2 separate regions of the Homo sapiens genome follow, and region 2 is linked to region 1. Evidence: promoter capture Hi-C in 16 types of primary human blood cells and fetal thymus (Javierre and others, 2016). All regions are on one chromosome and are shown on one strand. Each heading gives the region's core, a stretch centred on a gene start or on the middle of the fragment in contact. The rest is flanking DNA. Distances are from core to core; before and after follow the strand shown.

Region 1 (5,741 bases), core at 1,266-3,765:
CCTGCCTCGGCCTCCCAAAGTGCTAGGATTACAGGGGTGAGCCACCACGCTCAGCCAAGTCTGTAACACTTTTTAAATATCTTGAGGGAATCTTAAGGGAATATATAGAGGTTTTCATGTGGTCGGTCGCCATTTTGAATTGATCAGAGCAGAACTCTTGTGAGCACTTGAATTTAGAGGAAAGCAGGTGCAGGTATTTATTCTATCCCAGCCTAACTTGACCACTGAAAGGCCCAGAAAAATCATATCGGGCATAATATGTCACTCTCTTGAAAGAGATAGGCAATACTTAATAAAAACAAAAATTCCATTTCAAGATAAAGGTCAAACTCAACTTTTAAAATATACAAACTATTCCTTTTGAGAACCATGAATAGAAACCCAGACACCTTATTTCCACTCTACCCTTCACTCTTTCTCTTGGGCCTAAGTAATTACCTACACTTTCCATTTCCAGACTTAAGGACAACTCCTTATATAAAGTAAAAATCTGCCACCCACTTTAGCCATCCTTATCCCCTGACCAGCCAGGCAAGCCCTGCCCTACACTCATTCTCAGGACCTCTGGAGGCGTCTTCAGAGCCTCTGGCGTTTGCTTGGGGTGTTGGAAAGGTCGCAGCCTCCCAGAACCGGATGTGTCACTCACTCCAGCAAAAGATGCAGACTCCACAGGGTTGGGGAGAGAGAAGAGGATCTGCTGGGATCATGATGAGAGGTGCGTGTGTGTGTGTGTGTGTGTGTGTGTGTGTGTGCGCGCGCGCACACGCGCGTGCGTCTGTGAATAATTTCATACTGTAAATTCTGGTAAAAGATCAGGTTTGTCTGTAATTCAGCAGAAGTAGGGGCTTCCATACAAACCTAGCAACAGCCTCTCTACATCAAGTTTTACCTGCTGAGTTAACAGTCACCAACGGAAGGGCATACACAAATTCCTCCAAAGTATTATTAGCTAAAAGAAACAACAGAGGGGCAAATTCCACACATGGAGATCAACGGGTGCTCAGAACTTCCTCTTGTTGTCAGCGCCGATTAAACATCATCTTTGTGAGCTGTAGGCTGTGTAGTGTGCCAAGAATGGTACAGGAGGGAATATAGGTCACTAGGGCTCAAAACACATCTGTACACAGACGCACATACCTTGTTACAGTATAACATGCTACACACATATACATGCTTAAACGCTAGGTTTTCAGAACACTCTCCCATCCTATTTCAGCTCTGCCATTTTAACCCTCCAGATAATTAAGTTAAACCCCAAGACTTAACCAGCCCCGCCCCCACCACCACCAAAAAAAAAAAAACCTCAAGGTACTCAAACAATGGGTCACCTTGCACAGCGTAACACACACGGGTTCCCTAAGAGATCCCCTATAGGGAGAATCGGTAGGTTAATCATTATTAAAATAAGGCTTTTATCATTAACCCTCTATTTCCTGGCCTGAGTCTGCGTCAGCCCTGTAACCCTTTCGCTCCCAGCTGGCTACACCAAGCCACACCTTGCCAAGCCCAGTCATTTTACCAGACTAGCGCCCACTCCCCCAAGTCTGCGTGTCAGAAGATCACCTCCCGCGGGGCATTTTCAGGAAAGCGCCTGACACGTGCCGGAGACGACCTACTGTGCGCTCGCCACCTGTCCTTCCAATAGGCTTTCCCGGACTTTCCCGAGTTTGGGGCAGTGGGCTGGGAGCTGTAAAGGGCTCCCCTCGCTTGCAGAACTCCCAAGTCTAAGATGGCCCGCCCCCTTCTTTCGCCAACCTGGATCCCCGCTTCCGGGCAAGAGGAGGTGCCCAGGGCTCACAGTCGAGACCCTCCTCCCACCCACCTCCCGAGGACTCCCGATTCCTCCCCGAAGCCTTCCCTCTCTGCACTTGGCTCTACAGGCGGTCGGATGGGAACAAACTTCCCGGCACCCCCAGTGACCCTGCCCAACACCACTCTGCCCTAAGGGGCGCCAAGACTTCTCGAGACCTGCGGGAAAGCAGAGGTGGGAAGGGAGAGAGAGGTGAGGAGTACGCAGAGGAAGGTGGAAAACCAACAACCGCGTGAATCTTACCTATCAACTCCCTGGGAACGTCAGAGCTCTCCTCGGTCATGGTTGCCCTGTAGGTGTGGGGGTTATTGCAGGTCCAACTCTGATTTATGGCCCCCTGCCCTTCCCCGAACTCCTCAATTTTTTTAGAGAGGCAGATGCAGCTTGCAAATGGAAGTGGGCAAGAAAAGGGGGGGCGGAGACAGAATTTTGCCGCGCGCCCCCCGCCCCACCAAAAAAAAAAAAAAGAGTTGCAAATGCGAGGCGGATTTGCTGCTGCTGCTACATGACGCCTCCTCGCAGTTCCCGGCGGCTGAATAAGGAGCGGACCGGATTACAAGCGGGCGCGGGGCGCGGGGCGGCTGTGGCGCCTGCTCCTCCTCCCGGCTCGCTGGTCCCCGGCGGGGCTTGGGCCGGCGTAGCTCCCGCCCAGCCTCCGCGCCGCACCTACAGCCCTAGGTGAAAGCGGAAGGCGTGGGAGAGGGCGGGGAGAGCGGCGCGGGGCGGGGGGAGTAGGTTTTCCTCGCGCTCCTGCCGGGCTCCGGCTGGGCGGGGGCAGCTCCGGCCCTCCTCCTTCTCCTCCTTCTCCTTCTCCTCTTCCTCCTGCGTTTCCTCCTCACCTCGCGAGAGCCGGCCTCCGCACCGGTGCGAGGCCGGCCTCCGGTGCCCGAGCGCTGGGTCCCCGGCGTAGGTCGCACCCCCAGGAGAGACGCTGTGCGGTGCTGCGGTGGCGGCGGCGGGCACCGCGCCCCTCCTCGCAGCCTCCCTCCCAAACCGCAAAAGCCCTGCGTCTGGAGAGGGGGCGAGCGGGCTCGCGAGAGAGCCCGGGAGCCATCTGCTGGCTGCGAGGGAGGAGAGCCGGGTGAGCCGGGCTTTCCATTTCCTTGTCCCCACTCCGGGCGGGCCAGGGGACCCAGAAGACGGGAGACGGCAGATTCTGCAGACCCGTCTACACGGAAGCTGGTTCTTTTTGGGACCCTCTTACGCACTTTTTCTTTTTCAACCCTCCCGGTGACATGTCACTTCATCATCGCTATTCTTCATTTCTGATGAGCTAGACGAAACCTGTGAACACTAATCATACCGTGAGAAGACACTTGTGTGTGTGCGTTCAGCTGGTGCTCTGCAGCCGCAGTTCGCTATCTCAGACATTCCCGTTGAGAGCGCCTTGGAAAATGCCTTTCACTCGGAAAAGTCTCTTTTATCCTCGGGGCATATTCAGGAAGCTGAGCTTTAATCACTGGAGCCTATGTAAGCCTGCGGATAGGTCTGATCCTACCTGGGCCCAAACTCCCTATGACTTCCCTGAGCTCCATCCCCAGAGGTTCAACTTCAGGGCCAAGAATACTTTGTGCCTCAATCGCTGCTTTTTAGCCTAGGGCTGGGAATGTCCCAGACTGTCTAATCAGGTTCTGCTTTTAAAGGACAGAAAAGGAGGAAAGGAAAGGGAATCCATGCACTTGGCAATCTAATTTTAAACACTGCTGTTGACCTTGGACCCCTTAGAATCATCTTCAGCCCCACAGCCAGGCCTTACCACTAAGGATTTGCCAACCTGGCCCCTTCCCACCCTCCTTAACCTCTCCCACTCCCTTCTCTATTACAACCAGACTCACTGTTTGCTTCCTCCTTCCTCTTAAGGTTATCTGATTCTTATCTATGTTTTCAAACCCATCCCAATGGTCTACCTTCTTTGTGAATATTTTCCAGGGATTTTCAGATTACTGTGATCCCTAAGCCTCTACAATATGTATTGCCTGAAACACTTTTCTAAACCCAACCATATGGTGTCGTGTTTCATTGCTTGTGTATTTGTCTGGTTTTACTATCTAACTCTTGCATTGTCCCCTGAGTTTGGATTTTTTCTGCCCAACTAGACTGTAGGTGAGTTGAAAGTGGGAATTTATCTTAGACTTTTGAACTTCTTCAACAGCCTAGTTCAAAATAGGTGTTCAATAAACATTTGTTAACTGATTTTAGAGCTTTGGACCTCAGGCCTCCAACCATTTGTTTCAAAAGTGGGCAATTTCTTTAAGCTAGACATTTCCTTAATGCATTAAATATATTTTTTCTGCAGTAAATGGAAATTAACATCTCAAACTGTCTTTCATTCAACCTGGTGTGTTAAAGAGGACTTTTCTGGCACATACCAATGAAGTTTCAGAAATGCCCTGAAGTTTCCAAACCATGTGATAACTTGTGAAAATAAGAACAAAAGTTTGTCTTTTTTTTTTTTTTCCTGTGGCCTGGGTGATGGAAAGAATAAAGGGAAGGCTGTATGGCAGTTCTGTAATTCAGTACTCTTTGGCTTCTTTTAAAGGAAGCTGGGGTTTCAATAAAAGAATCATTTTCACTGCAACAGGATCCTGATTGGCTCCTGCATCTCTGAAGAAGTGAATTCAAATGAATCTCCTATCACAACACTGAAAAATGACTGACTGATTTTGGAAATCAAAGTCATTTACTTCTCGGTTGCAAAACTCAAATATGTTTCAGAATAGCAAGCAGAGAACTCCAAGGAGCACTGTTTATAAAGCTGCAAACCCAACAAGCAGTAAACATCCCTAGCACCGTAAAACCATGGTGCCAGCTTGGAGAATGCAGTTTGCATTCTGAAATGTGTGCTTGTTTACTGAATCGGCCTGCCCCTTCTACTGCTACTGCTGCAAAAACAAACTTTTCTCACTCCATCACTCCAACTTCCTCAAATTCATCCCTGTTTATATAGTCTTGAATACACGAGTGATCAAACCACTACATGAAACTGATTGTGTTACATATGTGATTAGCCATAGCTTCATCTAAGTAAGTATTTACATGTGGCTGTGTTTAAGCCATACAACTAGTACTGATAATCTGAAAGCTGTTAGTAAGATAAAACTTTTTCAGAGAATCCCTACTGCATTTGAATCTGTAAAATGTTTAACATTTAACATATAGTGAGTGGCAACATTATTTTGAAAAGGAAGATGGAGAAGAGTGTAATTTGAAAAGCATGGCAAGGCCAGGTGCAGTGGCTCACATTTGTAATTCCAAATGCTTTGGGATGCCGAAGTGGGTGGATTGCTTGAGCCCAGGAGTTTGGGACAGACCAGACTGAGCAACATAGTGAAACCCCATCTCTTTTGAAACATACAGTGAGTGGCAACATTATTTTGAAAACTTATCCATGGATTTTTATTTTTAATTCTAAGCATATATTCACATCTATATAGTACATTTTGTAATGCATTATGGTCAGAAAACACTCTGAGTAAAAAAGTTTGCAGAAAATAGTGTCCCTAAAATGACACAACATGCTATCATTAGAACCATATCATGTAATGATTAAACCCATGGAGATAAAGCAAACAAAAAAGTTAAGAAGAAATCAGCACTCTAACAAAAAAAAAAATCACAAACTTACGTAGGTCAGTTTCTGATCTCGTCTACTGCATTAAGAACTGGTTTTAAAATGGAAAGGTATTCAGAAATGTGGGAACCACCAGCATTTTACTCCCCAAGTAATGATTTTAAGATTACCTTCCACCCCCAGTAACCATTGGGGAAGGGGCCTTCTTAAGAAGGTGTATTTTTCAACTTGGTTAATAAAGATCTTTCAGGAGGGTAGGCAATGTGAACTAAGCTTGCAAACACCTCTAAGAAAACTTAGTTTATCTCTGACTAGAAGACGGTGGAAGGTAAATGGCTATTAAACAATACTCCTTTAAAG
Region 2 (5,741 bases), core at 1,744-4,243, 90 kb before region 1:
AAAACACTGCTGAAGGAAATCAAAGATAATACAAACAAATGGAAAAAATATCCCATCCTCATGAATTGGAAGAATCAATTTCATGAAAATGGCCATACTACCCAAAGCAATCTAGAGATTCAATGCAACTTCTATCAAAATACTAACATCATTTTTCACAGAATTAGAAAAAAAAATTCATATGGAACCAAAAAGAACCTGAATAGCCAAAACAATCCTAAGCAAAAAGAACAAACATGAAGGCATCACATTACCTAACTTCAAATTATACTACAAGGTTATAGTTACCAAAACAGCACGGTATAGGTATAAAAGTAGATACATAGACCAATGTAACAGAACAGAGAACACAGTAATAAAACCAAATACTTACAACCACAATTGATCTTTGACAAAGTATACAAAAACATAAATTGGAGAAAGGACACCATATTCAACAAATGGTGCTGAAAAAACTGGATAGCCACATGTATAAGAATGAAACTGGATCCCTATCTCTCACCATATACAAAAATCAACTCAAGATGGATCAAAGACTTACATCTAAGAGCTGAAACCAATTACAGTAGACAACCTAGGAAAAACTTCTGGACATTGGTCTAGGTAAAGAATTTATGACTAAGACCCCAAAAGCAAATGCAAGAAAAACAAAAATAAATAAATAGAACCTAATTAAACTAAAAAGCTTCTGCACAGCAAATCACCATCAGAGTAAACAGATGACCCACAGAGTAGGAGAAAATATTTGCAAACTATGCATCCTACAAAGAACTAATACCCACAATCTACAAGTAACTCAAATAAATTAGCAAGAAAACAAACCAAATAATCCCATCAAAAAGTGGGCAAATGACATGAATAGACATTTCTCAAAAGAAGATATACAAATGGCCAACAAATATACAAAACAATGTTCAACATCACTGATCATCAGGGAAATGCAAATTAAAACCACAACAAGATACCACCTTACCCCAGCCAGAATGGCCATTACTAAAAAGGTAAAATACAATAGATGTTGGCATGGATGTGGTAAAAAGAGAACACTTACTTATACACTGCTGGTGGGAATGTAAATTAGTACAACCTCTATGGAAAACAGCATGAAGATTCCTTAAAGAACTGAAAGTAAAGATACCATTCCATCCAGCAATCTCACTACTGGGCAACTACTAAAAGGAAAAGAGGTAATTCTATCAAAAAGACACGTGCACACATCACAGCACCATTCACAATTGCAAAGATACAGAACCAACCTAAGTGCCCATCAACTGATGAATGGATAAAGAAAATGTGGTCTATATACACTATGGAATACTACTCAGACATAAAACAGAATGAAATATCTTTCACAGCAATTTGGATGGAGCTGGAGGCCATTATTCTACGTGAAGTAACTCAGGAATGGAAAACCAAATACCGTATGTTCTCACTTATAAGTGGGAGCTAAACTATGGGTACACAAAAGCATACAGAGTCATTTAGCGAACTTTGGTGACTCAGAAGAGGGGAGGGGAGGAGAGAGATGAGGGATAAAAAAAAGCTACATATTGGGTACAATATACACAGATGATGGGTGCACTAAAATCGCAGACTTCACCACTATACAATTTGTCCGTGTAACCAAAAACCATTTGTACCTCAAAAGCTATTGAAATTTTACATATATATATATCAACTAAAAAAAAAATATGTTTAGTGAATGAAACTCCTGGTTCAACCTACAGTTGGTCCTTTAGACTTTCCACTTCCTAAGTGAGAATAGCTCTCAGGGTGGAAGAGCTACGAGGCAGACAAACCCCATAGTGCTACTCTATCATCCCACACAAATGCAGGGGCTGTATGACTCCGTCGGGGCAGTACAAAAGACAAAATATTCCTGTCCTTTGCTCTTAAGAGCAAGCACATCATGGCAGACAGTTTACAATTATTTTCCACGTCTTCTTTACTAGCCAGGCCATTCATGTCTTTATATTTGACAACTGGCTACACACCCTCAAAAATAAACACAGTGATGGAAAGGTTGCTCTGTTCCCTGCTAATACATGTGTAATAAAGCTACTCTTGCAGATGCTTGGCGCTGTGGTCAAAAGGAGCACCTTCCCCCGCCTACCCCCATAAAGATGAAGGTCTTGAATAAAATAGAAGCCACACAGAGTCCAGTTCTGAAATGAAAATATCACACTCATAAAAGCATTAAGAAGGTTCCCTATTGAGCTGGTTTCAAATGTTTAATTACTGTAATTATATGCATACATACTTTATCACTGTTTTCTAATGAGGTTGGCAAGGAGACAGAAACTTGGCATTTTATTCCTAGTTTAATGCGCTTGTTTTTATGCTTACTGTAACAGCTTGCTAGAAGAGCACTGGAGATAGAGTCGGATACGCTTTAAAGGACAAGGGAAAACAGCTCCCAGTGGATGGTACACACATGGCAAAAGGCCAAGAGTAGAAGCACCGTCATTAGGAAAAGGAATCAGCCAAGGTAAGCAACGTCATTCACAAACAGAAAAACCTGGACTGCAACCTACCTACCTTCTCTCCTCACTTCAAATAAGACTTTGAGCTTTAAAAACAAAGAGCGTGGCTGGAAGGGGGAGCCACAGCTGCTTAATCTGAAAGCACCTTTCAGTTTCTTCACAAAAGTTTCCAAGTCAAGGGGAAAATTCAACACCCAAACACACAAAGCAAGCTCCAGAGGCAAATGTGGGCACTTCTGAGAGCAGCAGTACTCCAGGGTTGGTTCCTAGCCTACGAGAGTTCTGGTGAAAGAGGCTACTGTGAACCAAAGGCCCAGCCTTCCTGCAGGGGAGGAAAGTCAGCAGTTTACTTGGGAATTTGCCACCTCGATACATAGCAAGTGAGGAAGTGGTGAGAGGTGGCAGATGGAAAGGGGTAAGGGGGGCGAGGGGCACAAGCTAGATCCAGACAGCTGTGGTGTTATAAAAATGTAGCAGCCAAGCAATGTGGAAACGGGAGTCTTAAGCATCTGATTAACTGAGAAGCAGCTGTGGTAATTTCTGGACTAGCTTTAAAAAAAAAAAAAAAAAACAAAATACAGCATTGCATTCAACTGTTAAGCTGACTGCAAGAGCGATCAATGGGTTGAGAATTAAACTAAAGCTCGAGACACTGAGCCTTGCTCTAATGGTGTCGATGGCACAGGGCCATGCTACGGGGTAAAACCAGGTTATGATGAGTTCCCCGTCTGGGACTTCCAAGAAGCGTTCCCTAGAACAGGATCCAAGACAGATCCACCCAATATTTAAATCCAGTCTTTAACAAAGGCCCTGTATAGACACCAGACTAACTAATTTGAGCCTAAAAGGAGACTCCTAAAAGTTCAGATAAACTTAGTTACTTACACTCCTCTATTACAGCAGAAATAGACATGTGATCTAATCATGTAAGGGGTTTTAAATTCAGCCAAAATAACTGGCAAATTTTCCTTGCTAAAATGGCAAAAACGAACCCTCCTAACAGAATTGCTCCACTGTAATTATTTACAGTAAATCAATAAGTACATCATTCTATATAACATACTGATCAATACAACACATTTTGACCAATTAAAGATTTTACTCAAAAAACATGAGTCTGGGACAAGGAAGAATATACATACATGAGGCCATTTATCACATTAAAATATATAAAGCAAGAGTGTAGACATGTAAAATCTCATTAATTCCACATCTAAATATTTCAACCATTTCTGAAAGGTAGACAAGAGGACTCCAGAGTAAAGAGTACAGGACTTAACCATTTTAGTAGAGATTTTAGGGTGATTCACAGAACTGCCAATCAGGTGGGTCTTATGTTATTGGTTATATCATAATCATCTGGGGTTCTATGAGATTCCTGAGTAATGTCTGTTTTGTCTCCCTAAATTGAATGTATGTCTTTGGTTTCATTTGAAAACATTGATCTGTATGTAGCTGGTGCTTATCAGGAGGTGTTAGCTGTCTGTTCAATGTGCTCTAAGAGTGATGTACTGGGCTAATTTAACTCAAATAGCTTTATAATTCTGTCACAACCTCTCTGCAGCCGCCTACTTTTCCTAGGGCAGGGAAATGGAAATCATTTTAAGAAACGGAAAAAGTGTGGTTTAAGTAATTCAGCTTAGCTTATTTCCCTTGGGAAAAGGACAGTTAACAACTACTCTCAGAAACTAAGTAAGTCGTGTCTGACCTCTATTAGTTATTTAAATTTAGCCATACCTTTAACTAATAAAGAGAAGGTGTCCTAGTCAACTCCAGTAAGGATCAGGGTTCTCTGCTTCTGGCATACCAACTGATTTGAACTCTGAATTTCTCTCAGAGTTGTGCTCAGAATTTTACTGATAGTTCAGCTGACGTGGAAAGGTCTGAATGCAGCCGGGTGCGGTGGCTCACGCCTGTAATCCCAACACTTTGGGAGGTCAAGGCAGGCAGATCACTTGAGGTCAGGAGTTTGTGACCAGCCTGGCCAACATGGGGAAACCTCATTTCTACTAAAAATGCAAAAATCAGCCGGGTATGGTGGCATGTGCCTGTAAATCCCAGCTATTCGGGAGACTGAGGCAGGAAAATCATTTGAACCTGGGAGGCAGAAGCTGCAGTGAGCCGAGATCATGCCACTGCACTCCAGCCTAGGCGACAGACCGAGGCTCCGTCGGGGTTTGGGGGAGAGTCTGAATGCAGCACAGGAGAGGTGGTCTGTAGATAATGAAGCCAAGTGTGGGCTGTTTGGAAGTCAAGTGTTCACACATGGGAACCTGTCTCAAAATATGAATTACTTCCTTACTGCATTAATATTCTCCCTCCTTAACTCTTCCCTCTCCAAGTCTTACCCTCCTTACCTTCCTCTTCAAGCCTTAACAGGACTGAGTACCAGCAAGGGCACACACAGCCACATCACACACAGCTGAGTGTTCTGGGGGCACTGGTGATGTTGGTTTGCTAGCTCTCCCCTAGGAGGTCCTTCCAGACACAGCAGCAACCCCCACACTTCCTGCTCCTCAATGGCAGCCACCCTCCAAACCACTCCCAAACCCCAAATCAGCCCCAAGGAGACCAGGTCTTCACCCCACTCAGCAGCTTACATCCCACTTGACCAAACTGTCAATGACAACATTGCTTTGTTTGTTTTTTAACCAGCATCTATAGGGATACCCTCAGAATTCTTAGCACTAACAAAAAGAGCTCCAAATAGAGAAATTGAAACCAAAAGTTTACATCACAGATCCCCCTTCCACCAAAAAAGTAAATGTTATGCAGCACTAAACCACACCCCCCACATCAAAACTGCAGCACAAGCTTTCCGAACATTTGAGAGAAACCAATTTTCACAGTAGCAGCCAACATGTGAAAATACTTTTATTGCAAAATTGAAGAGTATAGTTCAGCAAATGCATACTGGAATGCTACTATGAGTAACTGCACAGGTGGTTATGCAAACACTGAACTCATGCTTCAATTTGGCAGAAGTATAAACATTTCTAGAATAGTACACAAGGTTCAGTTACCTAGATCTGCTAGTTAACTTCCTTTACCTCTGAAAGAGCTCCCCCAAAGTCAATCATTTTCCAAAAGAAAAGTCATAGTTAGAAATACATTTTAAGTAGGCAAGAAAAGAACACACTTATATTAAACTGACACAACCATTTTTAAATGAGCATCTTACCAGGGGCCAACCTGTACAGACATGATTATTCTCTTGTGTCCTGTAAGAGGGTGCTGTTACTTAACTTAATTCATACA

What was found. Contacts are between HindIII fragments. The CHiCAGO score rates a contact against its expected background, and 5 or more counts as called.
Region 2: a contact is called between a fragment that was not itself captured here and the fragment with the promoter of CARMIL1 in region 1, in 1 of 17 cell types (naive CD4 T cells). The highest score is 6.3, in naive CD4 T cells.

What each region holds. Positions count from the first base shown.
Region 1 is chr6:25,276,148-25,281,888 of GRCh38, reverse strand. CARMIL1 (capping protein regulator and myosin 1 linker 1) reads right to left here and starts at 2,515. Exons shown (of 37, transcript NM_017640.6): 1 at 2,054-2,515. The coding sequence starts at 2,093. RefSeq lists a silencer at 2,318-2,787. The HindIII fragment of the contact is 9,381 bases long and covers 1-5,656 here.
Region 2 is chr6:25,366,693-25,372,433 of GRCh38, reverse strand. All of the region lies in intron 2 of CARMIL1 (capping protein regulator and myosin 1 linker 1), which reads right to left. LOC124901281 (a long non-coding RNA gene) reads left to right here. Exons shown (of 3, transcript XR_007059512.1): 2 at 2,355-2,488. Among named protein-coding and RNA genes, the nearest start is that of CARMIL1, 90 kb to the right of the region's middle. The HindIII fragment of the contact is 4,612 bases long and covers 688-5,299 here.